Regions from separate parts of the Homo sapiens genome. Here region 1 is linked to region 2. The links are contacts of gene promoters, found by promoter capture Hi-C in blood cells and fetal thymus (Javierre and others, 2016). All regions are on one chromosome and are shown on one strand. Each heading gives the region's core, a stretch centred on a gene start or on the middle of the fragment in contact. The rest is flanking DNA. Distances are from core to core; before and after follow the strand shown. Region 1 overlaps OCLN (occludin). Region 2 holds the start of CDK7 (cyclin dependent kinase 7).

What was found. The method cuts DNA at HindIII sites, captures the fragments that hold promoters and counts their contacts. A CHiCAGO score of 5 or more calls a contact.
Region 1: a fragment that was not itself captured here is called in contact with the fragment with the promoter of CDK7 in region 2 in 1 of 17 cell types (neutrophils); the score reaches 5.7 in neutrophils.

Annotation. Positions count from the first base shown.
Region 1 is chr5:69,522,802-69,526,941 of GRCh38, reverse strand. All of the region lies in intron 4 of OCLN (occludin), which reads right to left. Among named protein-coding and RNA genes, the nearest start is that of SNORD13B-1, 14 kb to the left of the region's middle. The HindIII fragment of the contact is 5,716 bases long and covers 1-4,140 here.
Region 2 is chr5:69,232,759-69,237,366 of GRCh38, reverse strand. CDK7 (cyclin dependent kinase 7) reads right to left here and starts at 2,481. Exons shown (of 12, transcript NM_001799.4): 1 at 2,326-2,481; 2 at 1,914-1,973. The coding sequence starts at 2,391. RefSeq lists enhancers at 19-519, 2,231-2,759. The HindIII fragment of the contact is 18,686 bases long and covers 1-3,052 here.

The DNA.
Region 1 (4,140 bases), core at 410-2,909, 290 kb before region 2:
TCTCCACCCCAAAGTGAACATGGGATGTATGTAACACGAATGTTTGTTCATTACGCATGCATCAGGACCCCATTCACGGATATTCATAGCTCCTCCTATAACCTGTTGAATAGGAATGTATGGCCAACCTGTTCAGCATTAAGCTCTTGTCCCAACTCCATCTCCTTCTAAGTGCCTTTCAGTGTCTGCCAGAAGCTACGCTTCCAAGACTGTCAAGGATGGCCACCTTACAGGTTGTAACCCTTTATAATAAATAGTCTCCTTTCTACTTTTTTCTTTCACAGCTGGAGATCCTTTCTAAATTTATAATTGTGTCAATCTTTAGGTTGACACCACCAAAGGTAAATTCTGAAATTCCCTGAGAGTCAATAAGTTATTAGAGCTCTGGAAGGGGATGAGGTAGAAAAACCTTGTACTCAGTGAGGCTTACCAATGATCTCATTCAAGGCCCCTTACTTAAACAAAAATCCCTGTGAAGACTGTTAAATATACCTGTACCTCATGCCAGAGTTTTTCAACAGGTGTGCCAGGATGTCTTTGGTCGCCCAGCCTGTGAGCCAATCATCTGCAGTTCCAGATCCCCCTCAGTTTACTCCAGTATTTTGTACTAAGTCACCATTTTCCAAGTATGCCATGATGTAATGATAACTTGCTTACAGTTTAATGGTTGCAGCTTGAATCTATAAAATAGTGGTTCTCGAAATATGGTCTCCAGACCAGCTACATTAATATTACCGACCTAGGCCCCAGCCAGGCCTAGCGCACACATCATAAACTCCAGGGTGGGAGTGAGTGGGCTGTTTCAATGAGCCCTCCAGGTGATTCTGTTGCCTGCAAAAGTTTGAGAACTACTGACGTAGACACAATTCTCTTCTATGTTGCAGACCACTGTACCTCGTAAAGACCTACAAGTTAAGGGTCTCTTTTGCCTACAGTGATGCTCAAACCTGACAGTGCCTGGTTTTCTGGTCCAGGTGTCATAAAATAACCTAGAAAAACGGTGAGAAGGTTCACTCGGCATGAGAACAGCTGAGGGTACCTACTTTTATCACAGTGGAAACATTAGTTGATTCTCAGCCCTGAGAAGGACCTCTATCATACCATCAACACAATGGAAAAGGGAAGGAACACATCTTTCCCTAAAGGAGAGAAGGCACTTTGGCTTGTCATATCTATAAAGGGTTAGTCATTTGTGAAAAGGACACTAATGATCACGCAATAGACTATACTTCCTCAGGACTATGCCTCATAAAAAGTTGACCTTTACCCCATAAAAACTCTTATAAAAATCAAGAGTATCAGAGAAACTGGTTGAGTTTTGCCACCTCAGCAATTGCCAAAAGGTAAAAAGTAGAAGAGAAAACACATTAGGCCAATAAACATGACATGTTCAGAAGAAATATAAACCAAGACAACACTGATACACTTTTACACGTTTGACTGGAAAATATTATAAAGTCTAACACCACCAAGAGTTGCTGGTTTAGATTATATATGAAAAATAATTTGACATTGTCTTATAGAAATGTACACTCACAGGCCAGGCACGGTGGCTCACGCCTGTAATCCCAGCACTTTGGGAGGCTGAGGCGGGCGGATCATGAGGTCAGGAGATCGAGACCATCCTGGCTAACATGGCGAAACCCCGTCTAGACTAAAAATACAAAAAATTAGCTGGGTGTGGTGGCGGGCACCTGTAGTCCCAGCTACTCAGGAGGCTGAGGCAGGAGAATGGCGTCAACCCGGGAGGTGGAGCTCGCAGTGAGCCGAGATCGCACCACTGCACTCCAGCCTGGGTGACAGAGCGAGACCCTGTCTCAAAAAAAAAAAGAAAAGAAAAGAAAGAAATGTACACTCACAAACGCTGCATCCCAGAAGTTCCACTCTTAGGTACATAGCCAAGAGAAATGTTCACAAGTATAGGTGATTTAAAAATGTTCATGGGGCCAGGCGGGATTCACGGGATTACACTCACACCTGTAATCCCAGAACTTTGGGAGGCCAAGGCAGGTGGATCACTTGAGGTCAGGAGTTTGAGACCAGCCTGGCCAACATGGCAAAACCCTGTCTCTACTAAAAATACAAAAATTAGCCAGGTGTGGTGGCATACGCCTATAATCCCAGCTACTTGGGAGGCTGAAGTGGGAAAATTGCTTGAACCCGGGAGGCGGAGGTTACAGTGAGCCAAGATCATGCCACTACATTCCAGCCCAGGCAACAGAGCAAGACACTATCTTAAAAATAAATAAATAAAAAATAAAAATGTTCATGGCAGTTGTAATGGTCTTAATAATCCAAAACCCCATTAAAAGGAAACTGGATAAACTGCTGTGAAATGTGATAAAATAGAGGACCAGACAATGGCGACATCAGATGGACTTCAACTCCATCAACATGTATTAATCTATAACCTAACTCTGCGTAAAAAGGCAAATGCCAAGACACTACATGCAGGTACACCTTCTACAAAGTTAAAAAACACCCAAAACAAAATCATGTTGCTAAGTTATACATGTATGCAGGTAAAAACTTAAAAAGCAAATTATAATAAACTCAAAATTCTAGATAGGCTACCTCTGGGGGCAGGTAGAAGCAAGTAGATGAGAGAGTAAAAAATGTATAATGTAACTTAGTAATGTATTGTAATTATTAGGTGGGATGGTAGATCTGCAGGTGTTCATTATGAAACAATAAATGTACCAGGAATGCTATGCATGGACTAAAGGTGATAATGTCATAAACTAAGAATTGAATTAATCTATTTCTGTGCACCTGAAGTCCAGTTTTTGTTTTTAGAGACAGAGTCTCACTTTGTCACCCAGCCTGAAGTGCAGTGGCACATCTCGGCTCACTGCAACCTCCACCTCCCAGGTTCAGGTGATTTCCCACCTCAGCCTCCAGAGTAGCTGGGACTACAGGCATGCGCCACCAGGCCCAGCTAATTTTTGTATTTTCAGTAGAGACAGGGTTTCACCATGTTGGCCAGGATGGTCTCAAACTCCTGACCTCAACTGATCTACGCACCTTGGTCTCCCAAAGTGCTGGGATTACAAGTGTCAGCCACTGTGCTCAGCCTTAAAGTCCAGTTTTTAAAAAGGTAATCATTGGCCGGGCACGGTGGCTTACACCTGTAACCCCAGCACTTTGGGAGGCTGAGGCGGGTGGATCACCTGAGGTCAGGAGTTTGAGACCAGCCTGGCCAACGTGGCAAAACCCCATGTCTACTAAAAATACAAAAATTAGCTGGGTGTGGTGACACATGCCTGTAATCCCAGCTACTTAGGAGGCTGAGGCAGGAGAATCGCTTGAACCCGGGAGGTGGAGGTTGCAGTGAGCCGAGATCATGCCACTGCACTCTAGCCTGTGTGACAGAGCAAGACTTCATCTCAAAAAATAATTAAAAAAAAAAAAAAAGGTAATCATTAAGGTTTTTCCTAAGAATCTACTGGCATGGAAATGCTCAGTTAGGGTTCTAATCCTGGCTTTGTCACCCATATGTGACCCCAGGCATGTGGATGAAAATGCTTTCTGTTAATATAAAACCAAATTTAACGTAAACATCAATTTTGTCTATTCTCTAAAAATATTATCATATACTGTTAGAAAATGGCTTAATAGCCCCCTTTTACACAATTATGCTGGCCAAAATGTGTTCAAAAAAGGAAGAATAATCAAAAGACTCAACTTTCACCAAAAATTGTAAAATTTCAGAAAACACAATTTCAGTATTATTCAAGTTGACCATTTGGGAACAAAATTAAGTTAGTGTTTATCTCATACTATAATAAAAAACAAGCATCTCAATATGAATAAAGTTATGACATTTGGTAAATAGTAAATATCAATATTGGTCCATTAGTGGTGACAAATGCACCACACTAATGTAGGATGTTAACAATAGGGACAACTAGCTGCACTGTGGGTAGTGGCTCACACCTGTAATCCCAGCAGTTTGGGAGGCCAAGGCAGGAGAACTGCATGAGTTCAGGAGTTCAAGAATAGCCTGGGCGACATAGCGAACTCTGTCTCTACTTTAAAAAAAAAAAAGTCAGCCAGGCATAGCGGCACATGTCTGTAGTCCCAGCTACTTGGGAGGCTGAGGTGGGAGGACTGCTTGAGCCCAGCAGTCAAGGCTGTAGT
Region 2 (4,608 bases), core at 1,232-3,731:
CCTGTGATTCTGGGACTGGAATAAATTTAATTTGTACAGGGACAGAAAAGTCAGTGTGGCTATGATATAGTGAACCAGAGACAGAATTAAAAAGATGACTAGGCCAGGCTTGGTGGCATGTGTCTATAGTCCCAGCTACCTTGGAGGCTGGGGTGGAAGGATTACTTTAGTCCAGGAGTTGGTGGCTGCAGTGAGCTATGGCTGTGCCACTGCACTCTAACCCTTCCACCTGGGCGACAGAGTGAGACCTCCTCCTGCCCCGCCACCACAAAAGAAAGAAAGATGAAGAAAGATTCAGTAGAGTTAAGGGTTTTAAAGGGAGTGGCTGTAGTGGTGGATCATAAAACATAAACCAGAAAACACGGACATAAAAAAAGTAAAAAAGTTAAAAAAAAAAAAAAAAAAAAAAAAAGAAGGCCAGGCACAGTGGCTCACACCTGTAATCCCAGCATTTTGGGAGGCCGAAGTGGGTGGATCAACTGAGGTCAGGAGTTCGAGACCAGCCTGGCCGACATGGCGAAACCCTGTCTCTACTAAAAATACAAATATTAGCTGGGCGTGGTGGCAGGTTCCTGTAGTCCCAGCTACTGGAGAGGCTGAGACAGGAGAAGTGCTTGAACCCGGGAGGCAGAGGTTCCAGTGAGCCGAAATCGCACAATTGCACTCCAGCCTGGGCAACAAGCAAAATTCTGTCTCAAAAAAAATAAAAAATAAAATAAAATAAAAAATAAAAAAATTATGGCAGGAATAATTGAGAAGAAGTAGTCAGTCAGGTTTTAAATGAATGCAAGACAGTACTTGGAGGCTGGAAGATGACCAAAAAAAGGGGGAATTAATGTTAAATATGGATAACTTCCAAGGAGTTAGGGTTTTTGAAGCAGGAGAAGCAGATTCAAAGTAGCAACGGTAACAAAAGCAACATCAGGACACCTGGATTTAAATCCCAGCTTCAGCAATCACTAGCTGTGTGATCTTGACAAGTCACCTAGTCACTCAGTCTCAGGTACCTCAAGTATAAAATAGGGTTACTTTTAACCACTTTATAGATTGTTTTGAAGGTTAAAAGAAACAATGTAGGTGAACGTGAGTTATGTAATTATGACCCAAATCTTTTTTTTTTTTTTTTTAAGATGGAGTCTCCCTCTGTCACCAGGCTGGAGCACAGTGGCACCATCTCGGCTCATTACAACCTCCACCTCCCAGGTTCAAGTGATTCTCCTGCCTCAGCCTCCCGAGTAGCTGGGATTACAGACAGGTGCCACCACACCCAGCTAATATTTGTATTTTTAGTAGAGACAGGGTTTCACCATGTTGGCCAGGATGGTCTGGATCTCTTGACCCCAAGTGATCCGCCCACCTCGGCCTCCCAAAGTGCTGGGATTACAGGCGTGAGCCACCGCGGCTGGCCCGACCCAAGTCTTTTGAATGAATATAAGAAGCTACTGAATCCGACCCAGGTCTTTTGAATGAATATAAGAAGCTACTGAACTCATTTTAGACCTCACATCAATGTTGTTCATGCTAGTGAAAGTCTTTCATGGTAAATCCGTACACAGAAAATACAGATACGACACACTGAGTGGATGCAGGTGAGGTATAAACAGTGACCTAGAAAGATCATGGTATCCAATAGTTCTGAGGACCGAAAAGATGGGCAGTACTTGCCCACAACATATGAATTTATGCAGTAAAAATAACATACAGCTTCTTCTTCATTTCAATAGAAATTAAAACGGGTTCAACCCTAGAGTTCCGTTTGGGAACACAAAGCACTAATTAATTATTTTGTCTCTGAAAATGACATGAGTAACTCATTATCAGAGTATGGTCAAGACTAATAAAATGGCTATCAGTCAATTAATAATACAGACATCTTCAAGGAGACTTAAAAACAACATAAAAAGGTAACTCACTTTCTTAATGGCGACAATTTGGTTGGTGTTCTTATCTCTGGCCTTGTAAACGGTGGCAAACTAGAAAGAAAAATAGAAATAACATAAGTTTATGGGAGTTTTTGTGTTTGCCTTTTTGCATTTTTACATTTCGCGAAGCAAAGAGCCCAGAGTTCCTGAGCAGACTCGCGGCGGCTGGAAACGTGGCGGGTCAGTCTCCGTCCAGCTCCAGGCTACTCTTCAGCAAGGAGAGGCCCCTCAGGGATTCACCCCCAGGATGTAAAGAATGGGCAGCAAGTGCGTCTGGACGGTTTCCCCCAACGAGAACGAGCAGCCAAGCCAGACCTCTGGCCTCCACGGGAAAACCCGCAAAGGTGGAGGCGGCGCGGGGCTGTCCGCTTGGGGCCCTCCCCGTCCTTCCAGAGAGCCTCACCTGTCCCTCCCCAAGGAAGTCCAGCTTCTCATAACGCTTTGCCCGAGACTTCACGTCCAGAGCCATCCGGCGCCGTAAAGCCCGACTCCAGCCGAAAAGGGCGAGCTCCCAGGACAACACGAATTTAAAGCTACCTTAAAGCCTCCAACACCCACTTCCGTCCACCGGGCTCCGTCGCTTTAGTATCCCCGCCTCACTTCCGTGGTGGGCGGAGGAAGCTGCGCTAGGCCCAGGCGGTTGGCGTTCCCCACCCGTCACGTGACGCCTGTCGGTGCCTGAAGTGGGGCATCTTCAATGGCTGCTGTGTCACTCTGTTGCCGTTTTAACTTGGGTGTTTTCTACATTACCAGGAACTGGTCAGCGTTCTAATTTGGTGTTCCATGTTCGGGGTTTGGTAGGTGTCTGTGAATGTAGAAAGTTTGGCCTTGTACCTGTTCTCGCTTTTTGGTTCTTGCTCGAGCGCGTCCTGTCGCCGTGGTTGCTATGGACGCCAAACCCTGCTATCTCAGATTACTGAGACGAGTGCCAAGTTCTTACGGGCTGGTCAAGAGTATTCTTAGTCCAGTCCCTTTATGAAGAAGCAGGCCCAGGAAAACAAAATCCAACTCAACTGAAACGTGCTGTGGGAATCAGCTTCTAGTCCTCAGTTTTCTACTCGGTAAAATGGAAAAAATAATGAACTACATCACAGGAGATTGTGGGTATTAAATGAAACATGCAGAAAGCTTAGACATTAACTCAATTAATTGAGACAGTGCTCAATTAACTTAGCAGTAATGAGTACCCAACCCCTTGATTATCATAAATTGTCATAACAAACACACTAATTCATTTATTCAAAAACATATTGAGTGCTTTTCCTTTTTCATTTTTCTCTCTCTTAGGATGCTGATATTGAGTGTTATCTATGTGCCAAGCACCATTGTAGAATCTGAGATAGCAGGGAGCAAAGATCCCTGCCTTCCAATGGGAGGAGATAAAAAAACAAGTCAAATATGTGTTATGATACATAGGTGATAAGTGCTATAGAGATAATAAAGCAGATAAAGGATAACAAATCAGGGCAGGGGCAGGGATGGAGGTTTTAAATAGGGTGGTACAAGAAAGTCATCACTGAAAACCCACTGGAGGGATTGGAGCAGACAAGTGATATGACCTGACTCACTTTTAAAAGGTTCACTCTTGCTGTTGGGAGACTATATTATAGATTTTGAGGGACAAGAAAAAGAAAGAAGGCCTATTAGAGAACTATTGCAGTAATCCAGATGGCTCTACTAGTGGATAATTAAAAGTTTCTGAGCCAGAGCAGCTGTCAACATGGAAATGTGCCCCCCTCCCCCTGCCTTTGTTTGTTTGTTTGTTTTTGAGACAGTCTCACTCTGTTGCTCAGGCTGGAGTACGCTGGCCCGATCTGAGCTCACTGCAACCTCTGCCTCCTGGGTTCAAGCGATTCTCCTGCCTCAGCTTCCCGATTAGCTGGGATTACTGGCCTGCTCCACCACACCCAGCTAATTTTTGTATTTTTAGTAGAGACGGGGTTTCACCTTGTTGGCCAGGCTGGTCTCAATCTCCTGACCTCAGGTGATCCACCCTCCTCGGCCTCCCAAAGTGCTGGTATTTGTAAGTGTAAGCCACTGCGCCCAGCCTATATTTGTTATTTCTAAGAGTTGAAAATCCTAAGTTTCAGAGATATGTTGAAGAAAGTAGCAAAATACCAAGGCCAATAATTTAGTTATTTTTTTTAACTCTGGAATCAGACTGCTTGCATTTGAATAGTGGCCCTATCAGTATTCAGCCACTAGATACAACTAGGGCAAATTACTTACTTTGTTTCCAGTTTCTTCATCCCTAATAGGATCTACTCAAAGGATTGTTCCAAGGCTTAAATGACCTCACACCTGCAAAGCCCTTAGAATAATGTTTGACAGTTAAGTGTTTACTATATGTTAGCCATTATCTTTCAGTCCCTTGTCATTACTTGGGTCTAGGCAAAACTCACACATTGCAGAAAAGACACCATCTCTCTTGAGGCAAGTCATACCTAGTGATGCTGTTGTCATAGTTTCTTCTGACAGGTATCATTGAAATAATAATTTAACCTCACTTGTAGAAATAAGCTAGTGAGCGGCAGGTGCAGTGGCTCACACCTGTAATCCAGCACTTTGGGATGCCGAGGCAGGTGGATCACCTTAAGTCAGGAGTTCCAAACCAGCCTGGCCAACATGGTGAAACCCCATCTCCACTAAAAATACAAAAATTAGTTGGGTGTGGTGGCAGGCACCT